Linked DNA regions of Homo sapiens: regions 2 and 3 are each linked to region 1. Evidence: promoter capture Hi-C in human tissues and cell types (Jung and others, 2019). All regions are on one chromosome and are shown on one strand. The core of a region is centred on a gene start or on the middle of the fragment in contact, and the rest is flanking DNA. Distances in the headings are between cores, read along the strand shown.

Region 1 (3,634 bases), core at 590-3,089:
TGGGAGGCTGAGGCAGGAGAATGGCATGAACCCGGGAGGCGGAGCTTGCAGTGAGCAGAGATCGCGCCACTGCACTCCAGCCTGGGCAACTGAGCGAGAATCTGTCTCAAAAAAAAAAAAAAAAAAAAAATGAGAGAATGGGTGTTGGGGTATAATCAGCAGATTATTTCACAGAAGCCAAATATATAAAGGGCTGTCATGAGGGGATCCATCTGTGTGGAGCTAAAGTCACAGCAGACATTTATCCATCCTCGGTTTTCACACCAAGGTCAGGCCCTGTGCTAGTACATGATGAGCTGTGGCCATAGTTACCTGAGGCTGGGCTCAGCCCATTAAAATAAAACTTCTTTTGGTACGATCTGTTTTGGGGTGGCCTGAGCTCTCCCCAGGGGGGTGAGGTGAGGAACTGTGGGGGCAGGTGTTCTGGGGTCATATAAGCCTCAGCGTCCATCCTTTCCAAGGTCCCAGTGGTGCTGACGACCTTGACGCCCCCAGGTTTGAGCCATTGACCTTCCTTTGGCTTGCAGGTGGCTCTGGTGAGGGGCTTCAGTTCCTCCTGAGCTTGGAGAGCTCACTGCCTGCTCCCTTGTGAGGACTGCTAGAAATGCCCGCCTTGTTCTGAGCTAGCATTGGCCTCCCCCAGCCACCTTCAGAGGTTTGCAGGCTGTTCTCAGCCTTTCTCGATCTCCTCACCTTTGAGCCACCTCCAAGGAGAAGCCTTCTCTGCCTTCCTCCTTTCTCCACCTGACCTCCCATGATAGTAGGTGTTTCCTTCTTTTAAACACTGAACACAGTGAATCCTGGTTTGTCCCTCGAACCAGACCAGAGCTTTCTGAGTGAGAAATTGTATCTTAGTCATTTCTGTTTCTGCTCTGGGCACAAGCTTGTGTCAATGTAGGTTCTCAGCCAATCCTGTCTGAATCCAACCCCCAGGTGATCCCCAACAACTCTCAAAATAATCTAAGATTTCTGTGACCCTAGTGCCAAGCTCACCTGCCTACAAGTGTCTGAATCTAGTTTACCTTCCCTGTCTCATCACTGCACCCATCTCTCCTGGACTCCTGCTGCAACCTTCCTCCCTGTCCAGTGAATTTCGCCCTCCTCCTCCCATCCCAGTCGCCACAATTGGCAAATATCAACCAAAAGGAAAAAAGATGGGAAACAAGTTTTTTTTTTTTTTTTTTTTTTTTTTTTTAAGGCGGAGTCTCACTCTGTTGCCCAGGCTGGAGTGCAGTGGTGTGATTTCGGCTCACTGCAACCTCCGCCTCCCGGGTTCAAGCGATGCTCCTGCCTCAGCCTTCTGAGTAGCTGAGACTACAGGCGCACACCACCACGCCAGGCTATTTTTTTTTTCTTTTTTATACAAGAGTTTTGCTCTGTCGCCCAGGCTGGAGTGCAATGGCGCTATCTCAGCTCACTGCAACCTCCGCCTCCTCGGTAAGAAAACTGTCATGACAGAGAGGTTAAGACTCTAGTCCAAGGTCTGTGCTAAAGCCAGCCCAGCGGACTGTCGGCAGAATGAACCAACGGGAAAGAGGTCAGAAGGAGCCAGATCCGCCAGTGCCAGCCCTCTCCAGGGCTCCCTGGGGACCCCCAGCGGGCAAGGGCTGCAGGCGGCCCAGGCTAAACGTGCAGTGAGTCCCGCTCTCAGAGGTATCTGCGCCCCGCCTGCCTCCGCCCCGCCCCTTGTTCTGGTTTGTCCAGTCCCACAGAGTCCCACAGTCTTCATGTAAATGAGGCACCCAGAGAGAGCCTATGCGAGCGTGGCAGGGGCGTGGCCTTCCACCTCCCGAGCATCGCTCTGATTCATTGTTAAAATAAAGAGGCCATGACCCTGGCACTCCCACCCCGGCAGCCCCTGTGCGTGGAAACCCAGCCAAGGTTAGCACTGGGCCTCAGAAAAGAGGAGCTGGTAGGGGGAGGCCTACAGGAGGGGTAGGGGTCGAGGGATCCGGGGAGGAACTGGCTGAATGCCTGGATGGAGAGGGTCCCGGGTCCATTCTCTGGGTGGGGCATGTGTAGCTGCTTAAGGTTTTGATTATTATATCCACATCTCAAGTGCATTTTAGAGAAGGATTCTGCCTATTGGTTGTGGGTAGGGGAGGAAACGGGAGCAGCGAGGGGCACGTGGAGTAGAGCCCCCTACCCACCCCCAGGAAAATGAGCGGCGTTCTCCTGCTAGGCGACGCTCCTTTATGTGGCCAGACCAGGAGAGAAACGCCCAGGACGGGCGGGGCCGATGCGCCCCTCTTCCACCACCAGGAGTCGGGAGGACGACCGCCCGGGGAGGATCAGAGACCCTGGGGCCACGGAAGGACCAGTGGGTAGCCCTCTCCCCACCGTGCCTTGCTGTCGCCCCCACCGCATTCCCTTCTCCAGGTCTGATGATGGAGGAGCCTTGGCCCTGGCTGTCCCAGGGGAGGAGGTGAAATTCCTCAGCTCTCCACCAAGATTGGCCACAAAAGCCTGATCCCCTGGAACACAGCAGGTGAGGATGGATGTGGGCAGGTGACCTGGGGGCACCAAAAGCTGCAGGTGTTTTGGGATGTTGGGTTCCTCCCACCCCCCACCCTCCCCCTGGGGCTCTGTGTGAGTGGGGAGGCCATCTTTAAGTGATTCTCCTGACCCAGCTCCACTCCAGGGCATGGATGTTGGTGGCCTTAGGGGCACCCAGAAAGGAGAACCCTTGCACAAGTAAGATACCAGGGCGGCCGGGCGCGGTGGCTCAAGCCTGTAATCCCAGCACTTTGGGAGGTCGAGGTGGGTGGATCACAAGGTCAGGAGTTCGAGACCAGCCTGGCCCATATGGTGAAACCTCGTCTCTACCAAAAATACAAAAAAATTATCCGGGCATGGTGGCACATGCCTGTAATCCCAGCTATTTGGGAGGCTGCGGCAGGAGAATTGCTTGAATCCGGGAGGCAGAGGTTGCAGTGAGCCGAGATCGCGCCACTGCACTCCAGCCTGGGTGATAGACCGAGATTCTGTCTCAAAAAAAAAAAAAAAAAAAGAAAGAAAGACACCAGGGTTTCAGAAGGGTATGATGCTTCACACCTGTAATCCCAGCACTTTGAGGGAAGGAGGAGGATTACTTGAGGTCAGGAGTTCAGGAGTTCAAAACCAGCCTGGGTAACACTGCAAGAGCCTTTTTTTTTTTTTTTTTTTTTTTTGAGACACACTGTTGCCCAGGCTGGAGTGCAGCGGGGCGATCTTAGCTCCACTGCAACCTCCACCTCCTGGGTTCAAGCAATTCTCTTGCCCCAGCCTCTTGAGTAGCTGGGATTACAGGCATGCGCACCACGCCCAGCTAATTTTTATAGTTTTAGTAGAGACAGGGTTTCATCATGTTGGGCAGGCTGGTCTTGAATTCCTGGCCTCAAGTGATCTGCCTGCCTCAGCCTCCCAAAGTGCTGGGATTATAGGCGTGAGCCACCGCACCTGGCCAAGAGCCCATTTTTACAAAATAAAAAAGAAAAAAATTAGCTGGGCGTGGTGGCGTACACCTGTAGTCCCAGTTACTCAGTCCCAGAGACTGAGGCAGGAGAATCATTTGAGCCCGGGAGTTTGAGGTTGCAAGGAGCTATGATCGAGCCACTGCACTCCAGCCTGGGTGACAGAGCAAGACCCTGCCCCC
Region 2 (3,634 bases), core at 758-3,257, 250 kb after region 1:
ATCCATCCCTCTCTCCCTCACAGTTCCAGGAGCGGCTTCCCTCGTCTCCCCTTACTCCACAGGGAGCCTCCCTTGCCAGGACCAGGGCTGCGACGGCCATGCTGGGGCAGGTGAGTGCTCTGTTAGCTGCTCCCAGTGCTGTCCCCAGGCTGCAGTTCTGGTCCCTGGTTGTCAGGTAGGAAGGGTGCACTTGAAGCAGGTGCTCATCTCGGTTCCTTAACGTTTATAGTCTGACCCCTCACTTAGGCTTTCCTCTGCCACCCCGGTCCAGGGAAGAGGCTCGCTCCCGCCCATGGTCATCACTGGTCTGTCTGCTCTGTTGTCTGTTCTTTCCCTGACTCCCTCCCACCGAAGGCCTGATGGCTACTCACCCCTCTGGGATGGCTATGGGAGAGGAGGAGTGATGGGGACCGCCACCTTTTCTGCAGGAAATGTGCCCAGCAGCTCTTGGTCAAAGCACTGTTGCTATAAGCTATCTCTGGGATGCCTCTAGGCCCCCTTCCCTCTACACACCTCTGGGAAAAGATTACACTGTATTAACTCTCGAGGAGTTTCCTCACCAATAAACAGACAACCTCAACTGCCAGTGCCCTGCAGCCTCGGGCCACAGCGGCAGCCTTGTTTGCCTTCCCACCTGCCTCTGCCACACCTGGTGGCTGAACATCTCTGGTCGCCCAGAGGCCATGTTGGGGCCATCCTCCAAGAGGGATCTCTGCCCTCACCGCCTGCCACTGGGCAGGATCCCTTTCCTCTGCAGGGAGAGGTGGCTCCTCGGCCATGCAGCCCCTGGCAGGCTCCTTCTAAACATGCCTGTTGACCTGGAGCTGGCGCCACCAACTCCAGGGCCTTTCCAGGGCCAGACAGGTAACACGCATGAACCCGAGTGACAGCTCTGACGGGCTGTTTCGGTGTCAGGAGACAAAGCTGGCAGGGGCAGGGGTGAACTGGAGGCAAGTCAAGTCACCTGTGGCCTGTGGGGCTGAATGTGGGCCCGGTGTTGCCAGATCCTTTGTCATAAGAAGCTAGAAATCCAGATTTTATGTGTGTGTAATTTGTAAATGCTGAAAGCTAGCCTGAATTTTTTTTTTTTTTTTTTGAGACAGAGTCTCGCTCTGTCGCCCAGGCTGGAGTGCAGTGGCGCGATCTCAGCTCACTGCAAGCTCCGCCTCCTGGGTTCACGCCATCCTCCTGCCTCGGCCTCCTGAGCAGCTGGGACTACAGGCGCATGCTACGACGCCTGGCTAATTTTTTGTATTTTTAGTAGAGACGGGGTTTCACCGTGTTAACCAGGATGGTCTCGATCTCCTGACCTTGTGATCCACCCACCTTGGCCTCCCAAAGTGCTGGGATTACAGGCGTGAGCCACCACGCCCGGCCACTAGCCTGAATTTCAATCAAGGGTTGGCTGATACTGTGTGTCCAGGGTGGACTGGATTTGTCCTGGGGGGTTCTCTGGTTTGCTGCCTCCTGACCACATGATGGGGCCTTCGAGGTCGAGGACAACTGTTCCCATTAGATTGCACCCTCTGCCCTCAGGTTCTTGAGGGTGTGTGGACACAGAGGCTTTCCATGGGATGTCCCTGAGCCGGCCCTTGATTGGGGCCTCACCATTTACAGGGCCGTTTTATTCTGCAAACCGAAACTTGGGTCATGTGACCTGATGGGATTATGGGACTCCCTCCAGGTGCCCGAGACAAGGTTGATATTTCCAAAATATTTTGGTGATTTAGTGGGACAAGCAAATGACAGAATACCGGAGAAGGCAGGGATCGTGGGTGTCAGGAGCCAGAGGGGAGGGGGACAGATGTGCTGTGTACAGGACAAGGTGTCAGGTGACTCCTTCCCAGCAGGGCCTCGCAGATGCACAAGCACGGAGCTGGTGGGTTTTGCCCAAGAAAGGTCACGCGGCACATGCAGGGATTGGAACTCCCAGGCCAGGGCTCTAGGTCGCTCCCACCTTTTCATGTTTCTTTCTGTGGCCATGGGTATAGTGGAAAGACATAAAGCTAAAGCCAACTTTTAATCCTGAATGCACTGCTTGCCAGGTAAATGCCCTTGGTTGTGGTATCTTGTTGAGACTTAGTTTTCACAGAGGGATAATGAACCGTTGCAGAGGTTTATTGAGATCATTAACAGAGTGGAATTCAGCACCCGCCACAGCAGCCAGCCATGGGGTGCCCAAGAGGTTGGTTCCCGTTGCCACTTGAAATATGCAAACAGGTAGCTAGAAACCATCTGGGCTTGACAAAGTCTAATGCCTTGAACAAATAAGCTTATCCCTCTGAAAACAAAATGGTGCTTGTAATGACCCACGTTAAATATGTTTTATTGGCCAGTTAATCATTGTGGTTGAATACTTGCCTAAGGCGGTAAGAAATCAAATAAGTAAATCCTAAAACAGGAAGAAAGGAATCATATTCATTCCTGAATTCAGAAAACTAAATGAACAGGCCACAGGTCAGAAGTGGTGGGAAGCAGGCCCAGTGGATACCTTTAGACACATGTCCTAGTAGGGATGCTCGGGCTTTGCTTCTCTGCGGACGGGGCTGTGAGTCTCAGAGGCTCCATCTGCATTCCGGGGCAGGGGCTAGGCTGCTGAGTATGCCTTGGGGTACTGCAGGGCAGTGCTATGCCACCACCTGACGTGGCAGAAGGCTGGTAGGATGGGCTGGCCTGAGGATGGCCCTGCCTGGCAGAGGAGTGGACTCCAGTGGTCGAGCTTGGGCTACCCTGCCCGTCTCTGGAGACAGATTAAGTGGTGGCAAGACCCTTCCTAAGTTCCTCACTCCTTCTGTGGTCAATGTCTTCCATTTCCCGGAGTTTCTGCAAAGGGCATCAGGGAAAGCAGGTGTATCAGGGCTAGGAACCTGAGGAGCTGTCACAGCAGTGAGCTAGAGCCTGACCCCTGAACCCTGCCACAGCAGACCCTGTATTTCCATTCGCACTTGGCGCTGGGCCCTTCCCCTCCCCACTTTCCTGGTTGTTTCTCCTACCTGGGAGATTTCAGCAAGGATGATTCCTCGGTACTGTTTGCCCTGTCCCAGGGCCTCCATGTCAGCCAGGAATTCTTTCCTCTCCTGGATTTCCTTCACCACTGGACAGAGGAGAGGGCTGTCAGGTTCCCATGAGGGATGCAGGCAGCGGGTTGCCTCTCTTGAGGAGAGGAAGTGGTTCTATTGTCAAATAGTGTTTCTAGGCCGGGCGCGGTGGCTCACGCCTATAATCCCAGCACTTTGGGAGGCCAAGGCAGGTGGATCACGAGGTCAGGAGTTCGAGACCAGCCTGACCAACATGGTGAAACCCCGTGTCTACTAAAAATACAAAAATTAGCCAGGCATGGTGGCGGGCGCTGGTAATCCCAGCTACTCAGGTGGCTGAGGCAGGAGGGATTGCTTGAACCTGGGAAGTGGAGGCTGCAGTGAGCCCAGATCACGCCACTGCACTCTAGCCTGGGCAATAAGAGCAAGACTGTCTCAAAATAAATAAATAAATAAATAAATAGTGTTTCTCACTTGTTGGCCCTTGGCCCTCAGGGATCCCCTGACTGCTCCATCCAATTCTGGGCCCCCTCCTCACATTACCCCCACCCCCAGCATGACTGGTCCGTCGGAGTCTTACGCTCTTCAAATCGGTC
Region 3 (3,634 bases), core at 395-2,894, 160 kb after region 1:
TGGCCAGGCTGATTTTGAACTCCTGACCTCAAATGATCCACCCGCCTCAGCCTCCCAAAGTGCTGGGATTACAGGCATGAGCCACTGCACCTGGCCTGAACATTTACTCTCAATTGACTAAACACAGAATGAGTTCAAAACTCATTCTGTGGCTGGGTGTCGTAGCTCACGGCTGTAATTCTGGTACTTTGGGAAGCTGAGGTGGGAGGATTTCTTGAGGCTGGGAGATTTAGACTAGCCTGAGCAACATAGGGAGACCCCCTTCTCTACAAAAAATTTTTTAAAAAAATTATCCAGGCATGGTGGCACATGCCTGTAGTCCCACCTACTCGGGAGGCTGAGGTGGAAGGATCACTTGAGCCCTGGAAGTCGAGGCTGCAGTGAGCCATGATCATATCACTGCACTCCAACCTTGGCAACAGAGCGAGACCCTGTCTTCAAACAAACAAACAACATTCTGAAATTAATATTTTCTTTCTTCCTTTTTTTTTTTTTTTTTTTTTTTTTGACATGGGGGTCTCACTGTGTTGCCCATGCTGGAGTGTAGTGTGATAATGGCTGACTGCAACCTGTGCCTGCTGGGCTCAAGCGATCCTCCCACCTTAGCCTGCCGAGTAGCTGGGACCATGGGTGCGCACCACCACGCTTGTCTAATTACTCTTGTGTGCTGGTTTTTTTATGCACTTGGATGGCAGAAGTCTCTAAATGGTGAAAGGAAATAGATCTGAATGAGATCTTAATCTCATCGACAGAGATTGAGGTTGATGGAGTCAAATGAGAAGTGGATTTTCTCATTGCATGTATTCTTGGGGCATATGCATAGCAATTTAGATGTTGTTTAGTCTTCAGAATTACCTTTATTCCTCCCCACCAAAGAGCTAAAGCTGCCAGGATACCCCAGTTTTATGGTTAGTGAAGCACCCTTCTGCCATCTCTTTCAGATGCTGTCTTCCTGATTTTATACAAAGAATTATACTACAGGCACATATATGCCAAAGTCAGTGTAAGTATTTAAGTGTCGCAGTTTTTTTTTTGTTTTTGTTTTTTTAACTCTGTGCTGTTTTTGTCCCTAGAACACAGTCATTTGTTTATATTGGTTCAGTGTCTGGGCATGATTGGCATGTTTTTGAGTTTTAAGAAGCGGTGGAAGGAACAGTTTAACCCAGAAAGCTGTTCAGACACACTAACGCTATATAACCTATGCATTCTTTTAAATTTCTCTGTCCCCACAATTCTCCTGGACTGGGCAATCACCCATGCACTGGTTATAGGCTGCCAGCCTCATAGGATATTTCCAGGTACCTGCTGCTGCTTCTGCTTGGGGTTCTTTTTCCCTTCAGAGCATTGAGCCTCTGTTTCTCTGAGATGTACATAACACTGTCACTGTATGCCAAGCACAATGCTAGGCACTTAGCACACATCTTCACATATCTAATTCTACTATCAATCGTGCAAAGTTGGTACCCGAGGTGCCAAGAGGTTACCTTTTCTCAAATTTATCCAGCTAGTAAGTGACAAAACTCCTTGAATCTAGACCAGCTTGTTATAACACCAGTATTCTACACATTATCCCAACTTTGAGCACTTGCTAGATTCTGTTCTTCCCGACTTCTAAATTATAGAGTACGTGAAGTTTCTTTTTTTTTTTTTTTTTTTTTGAGAGAGAGTGAGTCTCGCTCTGTCGCCCAGGCTGGAGTACAGTGGCGCGATCTCAGCTCACTGCAGGCTCCACCTCCCAGGTTCACGCCATTCTCCTGCCTCAGCCTCCTGAGTAGCTGGGATTGCAGGTGCCTGCCACCACACCTGGCTAATTTTTTTGTATTTTTAGTAGAGACGGGGTTTCACTGTGTTAGCCAGGATGGTCTCCATCTCCTGACCTCGTGTTCCGCCCGCCTTGGCCTCCCAAAGTGCTGGGATGACAGGCGTGAGCCACCACGCCCGGCCTAGAGTGCCTAAAGTTTCTTAAAATGCCATCTGTACTATTTAAGGCTGGGCGCGGTGGCTCACGCCTATAATCCCAGCACTTTGGGAGGCTAAGGGCAGGTCACCTGAGGTCAGGAATTTGAGACCAGCCTGGCCAACATGGAGAAACCTCGTCTCTATTAAAAATATGAAACTACAAAAATAAGCTGGGCGTGGTGGCGGGTGCCTGTAATCCCAGCTACTTGGAAGGCTGAGGCAGGAGAATCGCTTGAACCCGGGAAGCGGAGGTTGCAGTGAGCCGAGATCGTACCACTGCACTCCAGCCTGGGTGACAGAGTGAGACTCTTGTCTCAAAAAGAAAAGAAAAATGCCATCTGTATTATTTATATACACCAATGACTTAATCTCTATCTTTAGCCTCAGTTGCCCCACTGAAGTCCAGACTTGTATATTCAGCTGTCAGCATCTGCACTTGGCTGTCTGAGTCATCTGAAGCTTAACACATCTAAAACTGAATTCTTATTTTCCCTCTAAACTAGTTTTTCTCATGGTAATCATCTCAATAAATGCTACCGTTTATTACCAAGTTAATTGGACTAAAAGCCTTGGCATTATTCTTGACTTTTCTCTGACATGATATCCAGCAAATCCTGTTAAGCTCTGTCTTCAACATACTTCTTTTTGTTGTTTTGTTTTATTTTGTTTTGTTTTTGAGACGGAGTCTCGCTCTGTCATCCAGGCTGGAATGCAGTGGCGCCGTCTCGGCTCACTCCAACCTCTGTCTCCTGGGCTCAAGCAATTCTCCAGGCTCAAACGATTCTCCTTCCTCAGCCTCCTGAGTAGCTGGGATTACAGGCATGCACCACCACGCCTGGCTAATTTTTGTATTTTTAGTAGAGACAGGGTTTCGCTATGTTGCCCAGGCTGGTCTCGAACTCCTGACCTCAGGTAATCCGCCCGCCTCGGCTTCCCAAAGTGCTAAGATTACAGGCGTGAGCCACTGTGCCTGGCCTTCAGCATACTTCTTGAATCAGCCACTTTTCACTGCCACACTGCTGCTCACCTAGTTGAAGTCATTATCATCTCTTCCCTGAATTACTGCAGGAGCTGCTTACCTGGTGTCAGTTTCCACTCTTGGCTGTTTATTCTCAACATAATAACCAGCATGATCCTTTTGCTACATAGTTTCATCAGGTCACTTCCAATCCTACCATGACTTCCCATCACACTTACTAATTCCAGGTTTTAGCCCTGTTTCCCTTCTCACTCATTTCCTGAAACTTTCCCCCTCCCTCCCTGGGCTCCTGGCAATATTCGTGGCACTTCAGAGCACTTATCTCTTGTACGTTGTATTTGTTTATTTAGGGGAGGGAGTTTCTTAATCTACTGGAAGGTTAACTCCACCGGGGTATGTGCTTGTCTTGTTCACCAATATAATCCAGTGCCTAGAATAATGTCTGGTCATAATGGTGTTAATTGAGCATGTGTGTGCTTGCATGCATGTGTAAGTGAAGGAAATTGGCACCAAGATCTCCACCTAAGGAGGTCCTAGTTTCTCACAGTTACTCACCCCTCTTCTCCTTGAGGACCGCTTGATATGGCTAGAACTCCTGCCTTGGCCACAGGAGCCACTGTCAGTAGTGGTAGGTGGAAAAGTTCTTGCTGCCAGAGTAAGGGGCCATGTTTTTCCGGCATCCCAGCGGGATCTCTG

Evidence for each region. The method cuts DNA at HindIII sites, captures the fragments that hold promoters and counts their contacts. A contact is called where the count stands out against the background at its distance.
Region 2: a contact is called between a fragment that was not itself captured here and the fragment with the promoter of TRIOBP in region 1, in 2 of the 25 tissues and cell types used here (aorta and dorsolateral prefrontal cortex).
Region 3: a contact is called between a fragment that was not itself captured here and the fragment with the promoter of TRIOBP in region 1, in 1 of the 25 tissues and cell types used here (spleen).

The regions. Positions count from the first base shown.
Region 1 is chr22:37,695,209-37,698,842 of GRCh38, forward strand. It overlaps TRIOBP (TRIO and F-actin binding protein), which reads left to right and starts at 1,840. Exons shown (of 24, transcript NM_001039141.3): 1 at 1,840-1,881; 2 at 2,380-2,488. The HindIII fragment of the contact is 29,636 bases long and covers 1-3,634 here.
Region 2 is chr22:37,941,424-37,945,057 of GRCh38, forward strand. It overlaps MICALL1 (MICAL like 1), which reads left to right. Exons shown (of 16, transcript NM_033386.4): 16 at 1-1,399. It overlaps C22orf23 (chromosome 22 open reading frame 23), which reads right to left. Exons shown (of 7, transcript NM_032561.5): 5 at 3,619-3,634; 6 at 2,994-3,094; 7 at 1,627-2,823. The coding sequence ends at 2,752. Among named protein-coding and RNA genes, the nearest start is that of C22orf23, 10 kb to the right of the region's middle. The HindIII fragment of the contact is 9,418 bases long and covers 1-3,634 here.
Region 3 is chr22:37,857,738-37,861,371 of GRCh38, forward strand. EIF3L (eukaryotic translation initiation factor 3 subunit L) reads left to right here. Exons shown (of 13, transcript NM_016091.4): 5 at 942-1,003. Among named protein-coding and RNA genes, the nearest start is that of EIF3L, 10 kb to the left of the region's middle. RefSeq lists an enhancer at 1-7. The HindIII fragment of the contact is 3,267 bases long and covers 12-3,278 here.